2 separate regions of the Homo sapiens genome follow, and region 2 is linked to region 1. The links are contacts of gene promoters, found by promoter capture Hi-C in human tissues and cell types (Jung and others, 2019). All regions are on one chromosome and are shown on one strand. The core of a region is centred on a gene start or on the middle of the fragment in contact, and the rest is flanking DNA. Distances in the headings are between cores, read along the strand shown.

Region 1 (7,193 bases), core at 3,473-5,972:
TGGATTTGTCTATGAATCTTTCTTCCTTCCCCCACCTCCCTACCCCCAGCACCAGCACTAAGAAGCTCACCTCTGGCCACAATCTGTCAGAGATCACAAAAAAAAAACGGTTGTTTTTCATCACTTCATCCCACCACATTACCGATTCCCAACCCTCTTCTCTTCTCTCTTTCACAGCCAATCAGCTGAGCTCCAAAGCCCCAGCACACGGAAGGGTGGGAATCTTGCTGGACTTTGGGCTTTGGGCTATTTAATCAGCTTCGAGTTTCTGCTTCACTGTATTACCGCCTTAATTGTCTGCTCAGATTCCCATAAAGAAGGATTAGAAGCCAAGAGTCAGTAAAGAAGGAGTCAGAAGGAGCCTGTTAACCACTGGCATAGTTTGGGAACTACTGGCCAAGTCCAGGTCTGGGTGGGACCAGAACCCTAGACTCCTAGGGCAGGGCTTCCTCCCACAGACACTAAGATCTTATTATTTGTCTTCTTACCCTCCACCAAGAAATGAACTTACAATAATAGATTTTAGCTTACTCCTGGGACAGGAGCAGGAAATGACTTCCCCTTCCCCCAACCAAAAAAAGACTACTGACAAGGGAAACCACTCTTCTGCAAGTGGCCACCTGCCCCGAAGGGCCCCTTCCCTTCTCCGCCAGATCCAGCACATCTGTGCTCCCTCCCCTGTGCCCTTGCTTCCTTCACTGACTGGGGCCTGTCCTTGGAAAGAACAATCATGATCACAGCTGAACTGTGGAGCCTCTTAAGCCCAGCCACATGTCCCGGATACATTCCCCAGCCTTGTCAGCTGTCCGGATCTGCAGGGTGGCCCCAGACCCCGAGAGCCAAGAATACCCTCCCTCTTACATCACGCAACACCCCACACCTCCTGTGCAGGAAAGGGGCACCCTTAAAACTAGGCCCTCCTCCTAGGAGCCCAATAATAACCATGAGCATGGCCCTAGTCCTGGCCGCTCACTAGCAGCTCTGCTGGCCTCTGTCCCCTTGGGAAGAGTTTATTTTCTCTACTGTGCAGATGGGGAAGCTAAGGCCATGCTTAGCAGGTTTGCCTAGTCACACATCTGCTCTGTTCTAGCCCCTGGCTTGGTCTGGAAGGGACAATACAGCTTTCTGAAAGTTGTTCACCTACCCCTGGCTCTTTTGAAAGAGCAAAAACATATTCTAATGAGTCACTGCTTTCTCCTTTCAGGGAGATAAGGTCGGCCCTGAGATAGAACCTTCTCCACTCTAGCCATTTCCCTTCCTTAAAAACTCTGTCATGTCTACATTCAAAACCCCAAATTTTCAACTTTGTCTCCAAATTCAGAGGCCTGGGCGAGAATCCTTAGCCAGGTTGTCATCACAAGGGAACTGCCACCTAAGTAGAGGCCAGATGACAAACACTGTGGATTTAGAACCAAATGGAACACTATGATTCTCCAAGAAACACTGGACTTTTCTGAATAAAGAGGGAGGGCTCCTTCCTAGGCCTCCTTTGCACCAACACCCAGGCCCTCATCAACAGGATAGCCCAAGGACAGAAAAACACACTGTGGGGGCACAAATCTTGGAGCTAGAAGATGTCAAACAACAAGACATTCAGCCCTGTAAACTGGAATCCCCACATATGGTCCCAAAGTATTAAATCCCAGAGCAACACAGCTCAAGGGTCACTTCTGTAAGTATTAATGGGTTTTATTCCTCTCTTAACTTTTATATCACTGATTTTCAAATTTGGCACTGAAAGGCTGCTTTCATTTATTATTCACGAAAGTCAGCCAAACCTCTGGTTTACCAAAGTTGGGGCTGGGGTCATGGGTGGGTGCGAACTGGGCAGGACAGATTTCCAAAGAGCCACATCTCTCCGCCAATTCTGGGAGGATGCAGATAAAAATGACATATGAGGCCGGGCGTGGTGGCTCACGCCTGTAATCCCAGGGGAGGCAGAGGCCGGCGGATCATGAGCTTAGGAGTTCGAGACCAGCCTAGCCAACATGGTGAAACCCTGTCTCTACTAAAAATACAAAAATTAGCTGGGTGTGGTGGCACACACCTGTAATTCCAGCTACTTGGGAGGCTGAGGCAGGAGCATCATTTGAACCTGGGAGGCGGAGGTTGCAGTGAGCCAAGATCGCGCAACTGCACTCCAGCCTGGGTCACAGAGCAAGACTCGTCTCAAGAAAAAAAAAAAATATATATATATATATATAAATGAAAACGACATCCGTAAGCTCCAAATGTCCACCTGTCCACAGCCTCTGCCCTACTATGTGTTCTGTCTCCTCCCACCAGCCCCCAACTAAAGCTTCAGTGAGATGAGGCCATTTCAGAGGGTGATCTGGAAAAGGTCATGGAGCTGGGCAGGAGGGCTAAGGGCAAGAGGGCATTTACACTCCACTGAAAGGGAGTGACTCCTGATAACCAACAGATGCCTTTAAAGTCTGCTCACTGTAACTGACCAATATTTGTCCATGAAGATTTCAGAAATCTGCTACTAAAATCCCCACCCTACACCCGTACTGGCCACATGGCGTGGTTGGTAAGTGTGTGTGCTGTTCACCACATTAGGATTTGCTGGAGCCTCGCAGCACGTGAGAACCCTCCCAAGAGATGGGAAAGAGGAAATGTGATTTCACACTGGACATCTCCACTAGTTCTTTCCCACCCTTCTGGGAGACAGAGAGGGAGAGAGAAAGAGAAATCTTTAACTGCAGCCCTGCCTCTCCTAGCTCTCCTGACACCCGCCCTAAAAAAAAAAAAAAAAAGGCTGAAAATTTCAGAGATGTTTATGCTCCATTTGTGTGAAGATCTGGAGAACTCCAAACATTGTGAAATCCACCAGTGCAATATTGGGTAGGGCCTCAGGCCAGACTGAGCTCATTAAGAGATTGATAAACCCGCAGTTCCCAACTTCTCTGAGCCTTATACCTTCCAGCTTTGAATCCCGAGAGACTTGTCAGGGAGGTTAGTGCCTCGGTCAGCTACAGACACAGACGAGTGCTTGCTCCCGCCCCTCTGCAAGTTCTTTGGCCTCCAGTGTGTCTGGCCTCTCCCAAAACTGGAGAGAATCACGCCACTGATTTGGAGGCAGGAAAGAAGGGGATGCCACTAGGTTTGGGCACCCCACTGTACACTCTTCTTTCCAGCACTAACCGCGCTGGGGGGTACGGAAGCCTTGCTGCGCCAGAAGGCGGCCTCCTGCCCTCACAGAGGCCTTGGCAATATGGATGCCCCTCCAGCAGCTGGTGAAAGAGGCAGCCAGCAGCTCCCTACTCTGCCTACCATCTAGCCCCTCCAGCCCATTTCGCCTCTCTTGCCCATCCTTCAGCCCTATAAGCCACGCAACCATTTTCTGTCTCCCCTGCCTCTCCTGCCCACAACCCCCTGCCCCCAATCAAGGAGAATTGAGAAACCGTCTTCTTGCACAAGAGCAGCTACTGTCTAAATGCTTTTTGATCGTCTGCATGGAGGGGGAACTGGGCACAGCCCTGGACCCAGTGATGGAGCCAAGCTCTAGCTGCCCTGGCTAGCCAAACCCGCCCTCACCCAGCTCACTGTCCCCGGGGTCTTGGCGATTCAGAATTTGTCAGAACATACCGTCTCTATCCTCTTCTCTGTGATGTCAAGCCTGGTACCACCAAGAAGGAAGGAGGGAAAGCAGGAGCCTTATCTCTCCTACATTCGCAACCTCTTCCTCCAGCTCCCACACGCCTGGTGTTATGTAAACGCACCTTCAACCCCCACCGCAGCCCTAGCGCGGCCTGGGGGCTCCGGGGCCTGGCACAGCTCGGTGCCCGAGGATAGGGAGGTACAGGGTGGCCGAGGAGCCTCAGGCCTTACAGAGGCCAGGCAAGAAAAAGTCAACTGCAAGGCAGTTGCATAGCATAAAATGCGGCAGCGGAGCAAAGGTCAGACGGCGAGGAACCGCCTCGCCAAGGAGAGGGAGTAGGAATGCCCAGTCCTGAGCCAGCCCCTCGCTGACCATCGAGGGAGAGGCAGAAGGGGAGGGAATTCAGTCCGTCACGGCTCCGAAGAGAAAGAAAAAATCTACGTCGAGCATAGGCCGCTACGGCGGGCTGGGAGATACACGGCAAAGCTGGCACCGTGGGCACCGAGCTGGGAGGTGGGCGAGCCGCCCAGAGCGAGGGCGCCCCCCGACCCAAACGGTGGCTCCTGACCAAGCCCAGAGACGCCCGTTCCAGCGTTCGAGGCGGATGGTGGCAGGAGAAGGAAAGAGGCCAGGCCAGAGGCAAACTCCCGGGACACGCACGGGGCTTCCCGAGTCTCAGAGGGCGGGGAAGCCGGGCTTGGCAATGCCCAGGGGTCGGAAACGGCGGTGCCAGGCTGTGAACACCCCCGGCGCCGTGCCGGCCGGGCCGAGGGCGTCAGGGAGCTGCGGCGCACCGCAGCGACTCAAGGAGGCGCAGGCTGAGGGAAGGAACACTGAGGCGCGCCTAGAAATAGCGCACCATTTGCCCCAGCCCAAGGGGGGAGTCGCGTCGCGGCTCAGAGAGGGGCAGTTTCAGATCTCCAAACCAGCCATGGACTTACTTTGAGGAGCTGCAGGGTCACAAGCATCGCCCCACGTCTGTGTAAATCCTGAAGCCGGGGCAGGTTAGCCGCCGCTGTACTCGCAGACGCCGGTCGGAGGAACCGGCAAGGCTCCCTGCGCTCCACAGCGCCAGCTCCGCGCTGTCAGCTCAGCTCGCTACCTCCGCGGCGATGTTGCAACCACTGCCTGGGAAAATGGCTTTTTTATGAATGGGAGGGAAGGGAGCGCCAGTGCGCACGCGTGCCGTTCGCGATTCTATGAATGGGTGGGCACAACAGACCCTGAGCGCGCATGCGCTCCGCTCCTTTTTTTATGAATGGGGGGCGGGAAAAGATCTTAACCCGTGATTGCTGGGACTGGCTCAAGCTCCACCAGGAGCCGTCGTTCTTTTACAAAGAGGGGTGGAGGTTCCAGTGGAGGCTGTTGTTGCCTTTTTTTTTTTTTTTTTAATGAATGGAGGGCGGCGGCGACTGCTGCAGCTGGGCCAGCTGCGCGGGCTGCACCCCCTCCCAGCCTGCGAGAGGAGGTAAAGGCCACCTTCACGCCACTGCGGGCCTGGGCAGGAACCGTCAGTGTCGCTGGGGGGTGGGGGACGCTGCGGCCTCCGGATCCCGGGTTGAGAGCAGGGTGGTGGAGGGCACACCTAGATCTGGGGATCTCTGCCCCCCGCAGGCAGTCAAAAGGGGGGGCGGGAGGACCCCTACTGGGGGCCTTCTCTTGCTCTAGACCAGAGACGCCAGGCGGGAGGGGTCTTGAAGCTGCGTTTACCAAAAATTAGGAAAATGTCCATCATTCATATCAAAGGGTGGGGTGAGGATTGGTGAGTGAATCTGGTTCTTTTTCCTGAGGCTGAATCTCTCGTGAGTGCTGGCCGCCCCTCCCCCCATTTCTTGGGTGTAGACAGTGACTGGGCCCAGGCCTCTTCCGGCTCCAGTACCCCCCGGGGCGATTCTGGCAACTCAGCCAGAGGAAGCCTGGCCCTCGCCTCCCAGCGTTCCCCCCGCCCCCCGCCCCAGTGCAATGTCCGCAGTGCCCGGGCGTCTGCCCGCTCTCTGTCGCCCTAGCTAGGTGTCCTTTCTCTGTCCCAGTCGGTTTCCCAGCCCTCACAGGACGCTGGCCTGAGGAGCCTCGGTCCACCGAAGGCCCACGGCCCTTCGCTGTTGTAGGCGCCTTTCCCCAATATCCCCCACCTCTCACCGGCCTCCCCTCCGGGGAAGTGGGAGCGGCCGAGAACTGGCCAGGTGGATGGGTGGAGCCGGCTGCGCCGAGGATGCTGCCGGGGTGGCCTCAGGATTAAATAACAACGGGGCTCTTGAGCCGCAGAGGAAATGGAAATGGCTGGGGATCCTTTCTTCGCTGTTAATGATGGTGGCGTTGGGGGGCGGGGGTGAGGATCAGCTCAAGCCGGTGAAAAGAAAAGCCCCCGCCATTAGGCCTGACTCCAGGAAGGCGGGGAGCCCTCGCAGCAGGCCCTGCTCCTCCCTGGAACGGAGGAGCCTGTAGCCTCCGGGAAGTCCGGGGCGGGGGGTGGCTTTGATGCGTGGATAAGAGCAGAGTCTGGGCCAGGGCTTGGCCCTGAGTCCCTTGTAAGGTCTGTCTTGCCGCTGTTCTGGCCGCACGGGGAGATTGTGTGGCAGTCTTTTTCTTCCTACGCCACTATAGGATTGTGCTTGGCTGTTGTCAGAGGAACCAATGAAAGGCTCCCAGCCCAGGGCTGAGGTCTGGCCTAGGGCTGGGGCTGGGACTCTAGAGGCAGGCAGCCCAAGGTCACCGAGTCCTAGCCTAAAATGCCTTCTCACCATTCGGCTCACCCCTCCGTGTACTTACCCAGCTCCTGAGGGCAGAGCAGACTCTCCCCTAGGGAACCTCAGCCTTCCTTTCAGGGGCGAGACCTTTCTCTAAGACCAAGAGAACTCTTCGCCAGAAAAATGGGTACAGTTGTCCAGGACTTCCTTTTAAGGCTGTTGAAGTTCAGTATCGCCCTCTCTGTCAGCTGTAGAAACTGAGGCCAAGGGTCCTGCACCGGGTATATGGAAGAGCTGGTAAATTGTAGCACTTATTTTCTAGGTCTTTGCAACCTGGCTTTACTTTGCTACCAACCCTTCTCAGCATCACAGACCTAAAAACCTGTTTCTCGCATGTCATTTAAGCATTTTAAACAATGAAAGTTGAAGCAGTAATTTTCCAGCTGGTGCTCACCCATGGCCCTTGCTGAAACAGTCAGAAGGATGGGAATAAATAAATCTTAAATCTATGGCAGAAAAGGAGGATTGGAGGAGCCGCGGGGAGGGGGGTTGCTATCCTGTTTTCTTTATTAGAGAAACTCAGGAGACAGACAGGATTACATTTCATAGTCTTTCTCAGCTTCCCTGAAAGAGAATGCGAGGAGACCCCAGCCTGTGGTGGGGAGAAGGAGGAGCTCCCAGTCTTGAGCTGGGAGGGGCCTCTGATGCTTAAGTACAGCGAGATTCAGAGCGTCTAGAAGGGCTCTGGAGGTCATATTCTGGTTGTGCTTGGAACCTAAGCTGAGGAATGGTTTGGAGCAGCAGTTATGAAAAATTCATTCATTCATTCATTCATTCATTCACTCATTCACTCATTCATTGATCGATTCTGTAGTGGGGCCTGCCCTGACTCTGGAGACTCA
Region 2 (7,193 bases), core at 3,105-5,604, 240 kb before region 1:
TACTGTTTATACCTTGATACAGTTAGGCTTTGTGTCCCCACCCAAATCTTATTGTGAATTGTAATCCCCATAATCCCCAGGTGTCAAGGGAAAGACCAGGTGTAGGTAACTGAATCATGGGGAAAATCAGTTTTCTCCATGCTGTTCTCCCGACAGTAAGTCCTCACAAGATCTGATGGTTTTATAAGGGGCTCTTTCCCCTTCACTCAGCACCTTTCCTTCCTGCTGCCGTGTGAAGGTGCCTTGCTTCCCCTTCATCTTCTGCCATGATTGTAAGTTTCCTGAGGCCTCCTCAGCCATGCTGAACTGTGAGTCAATTAAGCCTCTTTCCTTTATAAATTACCCAGGCTTGGGCAGTTGTTTACAGCAATGTGAAAACAGACTAATACATACCTCATACTGCTTATATACCTCCCAGTGGTCAAACTGAGCCACTCTGAGTGGCAAGTAAGTCTGGAAGGTGAGTATCTTAACTTTTATTTACTTCAGGTATGGGGTCGGCTGGGCTGGTCTTAAACTCCTGGCCTTAAGCAATCCTCCTGCCTTATACCCCCTAGTAGCTGGGATTGCAGGCAGCAGCCACCACACATGGCTGAGTATTTTTAACTGGGCACATTGCTGCCCTGCATAAAATTCAAGTTCTGTTGGTAAAGAGAAAGAGAAGAGTAGATATTACATAGAGAATTAGCTGTGTTGGCCATGACTACGTTTTGTTATTATATCCAGGGCCCTGAAGAGTAACCAGGCTTGCAAGTACTCTAGGAATTCCAAGTGTTTGGGACAGCTGGAAACACTGAAAGTTCTGAAGGCTGTGTAGGATTTGGGTTATTGGATAGAGGAGAAAAGCATTTTATTTTACAGAGGAAGAACCAAGGCTACAAATGGTGAAGTGTTTTCCTCAAAGTGTAGCATCTAAAAAGACGTAGCGTGGCTGGGCATGGTGGCTCCTGCCTGTAATCCCAGTACTTTGGGAGGCTGAGGTGCACAGATCGCTTGAGCTCAGGAGTTTCAGACCCAACCTGGGCAACATGGTGAGGCCCCATCTCTACCAAAAATACAAAAAAAATTGTCAGGTGTGGAGGCACACCTGTAGTCCCAGCTACTCGGAAAGCTGAGGTTCAAGGATTGCTTGAGCCCAGAGGACAGAGGTTGCAGTGAGCCGAGATGACACCACTGTACTCCAGCCTGGGTAACGAAGTGAGACCCTGTCTCAAAAACAAAACAAACAAACAAAAAAAGCACCGGGCGCGGTGGCTCGTGCCTGTAATCTCAGCACTTTGGGAGGCCAAGGAGGGCAGATCACAAGATCAGGAGTTCAAGACCAGCCTGGCCAACATTTGAAACCCCATCTCCACTAAAAATACAAAAGTTAGCTGGGCGTGGTGTTGTGTGCCTATAATCCCAGGTACTCAGGAGGGTGAAGCAGGAGAATCGTTTGAACCTGCGAGGCGGAGGTTGCAGTGAGCGGAGCTTGCGCCACTGCCCTCCAGCCTGGGTGACAGAGCGAGACTCCGTCTTGAGAGAAAAAAAAAAAAAGATGTAGGGAGGAAAAACAAAGATTAAGAACTGTAATTCAAAGCCAGGACTACCTGATTCCAAAGCCCATATTCTTAAGAATTGGGGCCAGGCATGCTGGCTTACAGCTGTAATACCAGCACTTTGGGAAGCCGAGGTAGGAGGATCACTTGAGGCCAGGAGTTCAAGAGCAGCTTGGGTAATATACCAAGACGTTGTCTCTAGGAAAAAAAAAATTTTTTTAATTAGCAGGGTGTGGTGAATGGTGGTATGCACCTATAGTCCTAACTACTTGAGAGGCTGATGTGGGAGGATTGTGGAGCCCAGGAGTTTGAGGTTACAGTGAGCCATGATCATGCCATTGCACTACGGCCTGAGTGACAGAGTGAGATCCTGTCTCTAAAAACAAACAAACAAAAAAACCCCAAAGAATTGGGCTTTGGTGGGTCTTAAATATAGTTAAATCGTGATTTTTCTGGTATAGAGTGAGTGGTCTTTTCCTGATAGCTTTTAACAGTAACAACGTTGATTGAGTACTTATGTGTGATTTTCCTTATAAACATTATCTCATTTTGAAAACGGCTTTTTAAAAAAATGTAAAAATCACTCTTAATCATTGTATAAACAAAACAAACAAATCCAATCAACATGGAAAAGAACTAAGAAAAAAGTAAAATCTTCAGAAATCTCACACCCAGAGAAAACCAAGCTTAACATTTTGATAAACATCTTTCCAGACATCTCTCTTTGTAAATAAACAGAGATAGCTGTTTAACTACATAAGTGGAGGCACACCATATATGTTTCTCTGTAGATATAAATTATCCTAGTTAATCATCCCATCAACCCTATGGGGTAGGCATCATTACCTTCATTTTATAGGCTTAGAATGGTTAGATCACAGGCTCCAGGACACAGAACTAACAAGTAGTCAATAAGTTTCAGCATTATCTGAACTGACTACTTCAATTCCCTGGCACAATTAGAGTTAGACAAAGTAAAGATGTTCTTCCATGGAGAATTTTTAAATATGTGTATATTAAGATGGCATCAAGGCATCTTGGTGACAGGAAAACACAGCTGGCTTAGCAGACTCAGCATCTATAGTGAATATATCCATTATGAATAAAATACAGTGAAGCATTTTCAGTGCTGTAAGGCTTCTGGGAGACACTGTTAGTTTGAAGTCTCTGTGTGAAGCAATGCTGCCTTCATGTTACTCCGGGCAATGCTACCTGGTCTATCACATGACCAAGTCTTCTAGGACTGTCAGTGCTTACAGCTCGTGATCATTGCAAGGGATCTTTATTCTGGTGCATTGCAAATGACTTTATTCATACCACACCCCAGCCCCAGCTCTGCTGATGCTTTCCTTTGTAGTTGTATTTGCCAGAAGTTGTGGACCAAGTTGAATAATCTTTAGAGCTGCAGGATTTTGAGTGAATGAATGAAATAGGTGTCCTTCCTCCTTTGTTGATGAATAACAGTTCAAGTGGGTCAATGAGCCCCCTGAAGTCTTCAAAAGATGTTTTACCATTAACAGAGTACTGATTAAGTTATGGTACATCCATATTATGGATTATGGCACATCCATATGCTGGAAGACCATGTGAATGAATGAATGAGGTGGATCAGGAAAGAATGCCAGTTGTATAATTCAGTTAGAAGAAAAAAAACCAAGCTGCAGAACATATTGTAGAGTACGCTTCACCCTTTTCCCCCTTTTTGGTAACTTTTAGAAAAGAATATAAACATACATGTACTTTTTCTGGTAGAACCCATGAAAAACTATTAATAATCAATAGCTGTTATCATTAGGAAGGAAGGAATAGAAGTTAGCACTTGTCGTGTTATGCTTTCATGTTTAAAATTTCTACTCGTATGCATGTGTAACTATTATAATGTCATAATTATTATCTAATACAGTCAGGAGTGAGCTGGGCAATAAGAATGTGGGTCATCAAATGTTTTCTTCTCTGTACTTCTCCATGCTTAAACAACATTAAAATTTAAGTTTAAATGATGCTTTAAGAGACATTTCCTTTCTCTTTGAAAGAACAAGGGGCCCTCTCACCTTATAGACTCTTGTTGTTAGAAGAAATTCACAGAATAGCACTGTAAGCGCAGGGCTCCAAGTGATACAATAGATCCGAGCAATAGTGTGATAACTGAATCCAGTTTGGAGGACAGATTTATCTTTTCTTTTTCAATTGTTATTATAAGTCAGGCTAGACTACCAAATAGTGCCAATTCAGTTCAGTTGGTGGTGTCTGACTGGGGAGCTGTGTTGAGAAGAACCAAGAGGCCAAGTCCGGCTTCGCTGTGGTTGGTGAGCCAGGCTGCCATGGGGTGAGGGTGGGGAGTGGAGTAAGAGTCAATTTCCCTTGTCTGAAGTTCAAGCTCAGTGTGGGTGGGTGTCACCAAGGGACAAGTTCTCCCAAGTCAGCTGTGGCCTCCCCCACCCCAGCATGCCAACATATCACAATATGCTCCCCACAATGTCCCAACATCCCAGAGGGAGAAGCAAGGTCTAATGGACATGGGAGACTACAAAACTTAATGGTGCATGAAATTAGCAATGAACACTGGGAAACGTAAGTCACAGTCCTGTTTGATCGGGGATGGGGTGAAAATCACTATCATTTCTTCAGAATAGGAGCTAAAAGCAGAGAAAAACACAGTACCCACTCATCAAAAGGAGCAGCACATTTCAGATGGTGGCCCTCCCACTCACTACTGCCCGTCACCGGTAGTGCGCTTCTGCAGCAGAAAAGGAGATAGCTAGGGCACTGCGTCGTGCCAGCCTGGCTTGGCCATTCAACTTTTGTGGTCTCTTGGCCTTTATGAGGCACCAGGGGAGGCCCTTCAGGGACAGTGACATCTGAAATCTAAACTGACTATCAACTAATGCAGAAGAACCAGCACGAGCAGATCTGAAAATGCTGCTTCCGGTTGAGTGTGTGGGAGCACCGTGGGGTTTTCCAGGTACTTACACATAGGGTATGTCATTCCTGCCCAGCATGTCTGCCAAGGTTTAACTAACAAGGGGCAAAGAGTCCTCTCCCTGAAAACGGCTTTTGGACCTCCTTCCGGCGTATCTGCAGTGGGGCTGACCGAGTACATGGCTGTCTGGTCCATAAAGGTGCTTCTTCCACCAATGTTGGGGACCAGCCTCAACACCACCCGTAGGGTACCTGAAGTCCAGTGGCGACAAAGGAATGAGAAGAGACAGGTTTAGAGTTCATAAAAGTGGGAGCCAGGGGGCCAGAGCAAATCAGAGACTGCAAAGGCCCAGAGCTCTGGTCTACACACTATTGATTACCATCACTTAGATCTAAGAAGCAGATGTTCAGTGCGAAACAGTGAAAGGGAGGCAGTGCGTCATAGGCATAATCTATAGCAATAGCGGTTTAAATGAATCTCCTTTGTGCTCAAACTGCGTATCTTTAACTTATCGGAGAGTAGCTAGTGGGAGCGGGCTTAACTAGGAGCCTGCACGTCTGTCTACATTCCAATGCTTCAAAGGAGTGTCTTTCTCCTTGAACACAGTGTTTACAGATAAGAGAGCGGGTCTTGCCCTGAGCATGGGAACATGATGGCAATTAGGCTTTCCTCCTCAGAGGCCTCTTGTGGCTTTCCACAACTTATTGTCCCATATTTTTATGGCCAGTTTATACAGGCACCCCTCAAGCCCTTCTCCCAACACACCAACCCCAGTGTCTGCCGCCCACATCGACTAACCAGACTAACCGCCCACATCGACTAACTGCCTAAAATAGCAGCATTGAACCGCCTGCTTATTCGTTTCTCCCAGAGCTACAGTTACAGGTCATCGAGGGGTCAGTGAGCCTTGGAAGGAGGGATAGAGACCTCCACAGCCACCTTTGAGCTTTTTTCTTTTGTTTCTCAATACAAACTCCAGTGTTTCAAGGTATTAAAAAAATTGCTGTCTCTCCAAAACTGGCAAATGAGGTGCACAGGAAGGAACAAGATCATTTGGTTTTCCATTGTTGATGCTACTCCCTTCCTTCCCCACAAAGATAAATACCATCTTCCAACTACACCTGCCTTCGATACATTGTGATCTGAGACTCTATCTTGTCCCTTGGAATTAGGTGGAACTGGGGTCTGGGGAAAGAGCAAACAATAGGGTGGGAGTGAGTGGGTGGGGCAAAGGCTAGGAAATCTGATTCTGGACACAGCTTTCCTTATTTTTTTGTTGAACAAATATTTCTGGTGTGCCCACCACAAACAAGATGCAATCTTTGCTCTCAAGAACTTAGAATCTAGTGGGGGACTGGGTCCCTTAAAAAACTTCGTCCTGTGTTTTGCTTCTTTGATTTTACTGAACCACGTATGTTGCAATCCTGTTAATGGCAGGATTCATAGGCAAACTCTATTAGATGTTTATGTTAATATTAAAAATTGAACCTCAAGTACATAAATAAATGAATGGAGTTGCCCCTAGTACATAAAGAAAGACATGAATAGAGTTGCTTGAGCATCACTTCCATCGTCATTGGGTCCTTCTGAGCACCCACCTAGATATAATTCCCCCAGATTACAGTTTTAACTAAATTCTTAAATTTCTTTTTTTTTTCTTTGTTATAGAGACAGGGTCCCACTATGTTGCCCAGGCTGGTCTCGAACTTTTGGACGCAAAAGATCCTCCTGCCTCAATCTCCCAAAGTGCTGGGATTATAGGCGTAAGCCACCATGCCCAGCTTAAATTTCTTAATTTAGTTTTCTCCTTGGTGGTTTAAATTAGCATAGACTAATAGGATTAAGGCCTTCACAAATGAAATTACATTTGGCTTTAAAGAAACAAGGTTGTGGCCTGGCTTGGTGACTCACGCTGGTAGTCCCAGCATTTTGGGAGGCTGAGGTGGGTGGATCACTTGAGGTCAGGAGTTCAAGACCAGCCATGGCCAACGTGGTGAAACCCCATCTCTACTAAAAGTACAAAAAAATTAGCCAGGCATGGTGGCGCATGCCTGTAATCCCAGCTACTCAGGAGGCTGAGGCAGGAGAATCACTTGAACCCGGGAGATGGAGGTTGCAGTGAGCCGTGATCGTGCCACTGCAATCTAGCCTGGGCGACAGAATGAGACTCCGTCTCAAAAAAATAAAAGAAGGTTGTGGGCAAATAAACTTTTTAATCATCCTGAAAAGATGGCTTACAGGACTGATACTGCAGATAAGTATATGATTTTATGCAAAACATAAAGTTATTTTTAAGAGAAGTATATAGTATACGTAAAAACTTGTACAAGAAGGTTCATAGCAGCATTATTCATAGTAGGCAAAAGTGTAAATGATGAAAATGTCCATCAACTGATGAATGAATAAACAAAGTGTGGTATATCCATAGAAAAGAATATTTGACAATAAGAAGAAATGAAGTATATCTACATGCTATAATATGAATGAACTTGGAAAACATGCTAAATGAAAGAATCTAGTCACAAAAGGTTACATACTATGTAATCCCGTTTACATGAAATGTCCAAAACATGCAAACCCACATAGAGACAGAAAGTAGATTAGTGGTTGCCAGGGGCTGGAGGGGAGGAATGGGGAGTGACTGCTTAATGAACATATGTTTTGTTTTTTGGATGATGAAAATGCTTTGGAATTAGATAGAGGTGATGATTGCACAACATAATGAAGGTGCTAAA

What was found. The method cuts DNA at HindIII sites, captures the fragments that hold promoters and counts their contacts. A contact is called where the count stands out against the background at its distance.
Region 2: a contact is called between a fragment that was not itself captured here and the fragment with the promoter of SPRY4 in region 1, in 1 of the 25 tissues and cell types used here (small bowel).

The regions. Positions count from the first base shown.
Region 1 is chr5:142,320,299-142,327,491 of GRCh38, forward strand. It overlaps SPRY4 (sprouty RTK signaling antagonist 4), which reads right to left and starts at 4,723. Exons shown (of 2, transcript NM_001127496.3): 1 at 4,546-4,723. SPRY4-AS1 (SPRY4 antisense RNA 1) reads left to right here and starts at 4,995. Exons shown (of 4, transcript NR_120664.1): 1 at 4,995-5,072. RefSeq lists enhancers at 1-38, 2,721-3,685, 3,686-4,648, 4,130-4,189. The HindIII fragment of the contact is 10,639 bases long and covers 1-7,193 here.
Region 2 is chr5:142,084,087-142,091,279 of GRCh38, forward strand. It overlaps LOC105378204 (a long non-coding RNA gene), which reads right to left. Exons shown (of 3, transcript XR_944368.3): 3 at 4,578-4,709. Among named protein-coding and RNA genes, the nearest start is that of NDFIP1, 21 kb to the right of the region's middle. The HindIII fragment of the contact is 8,153 bases long and covers 279-7,193 here.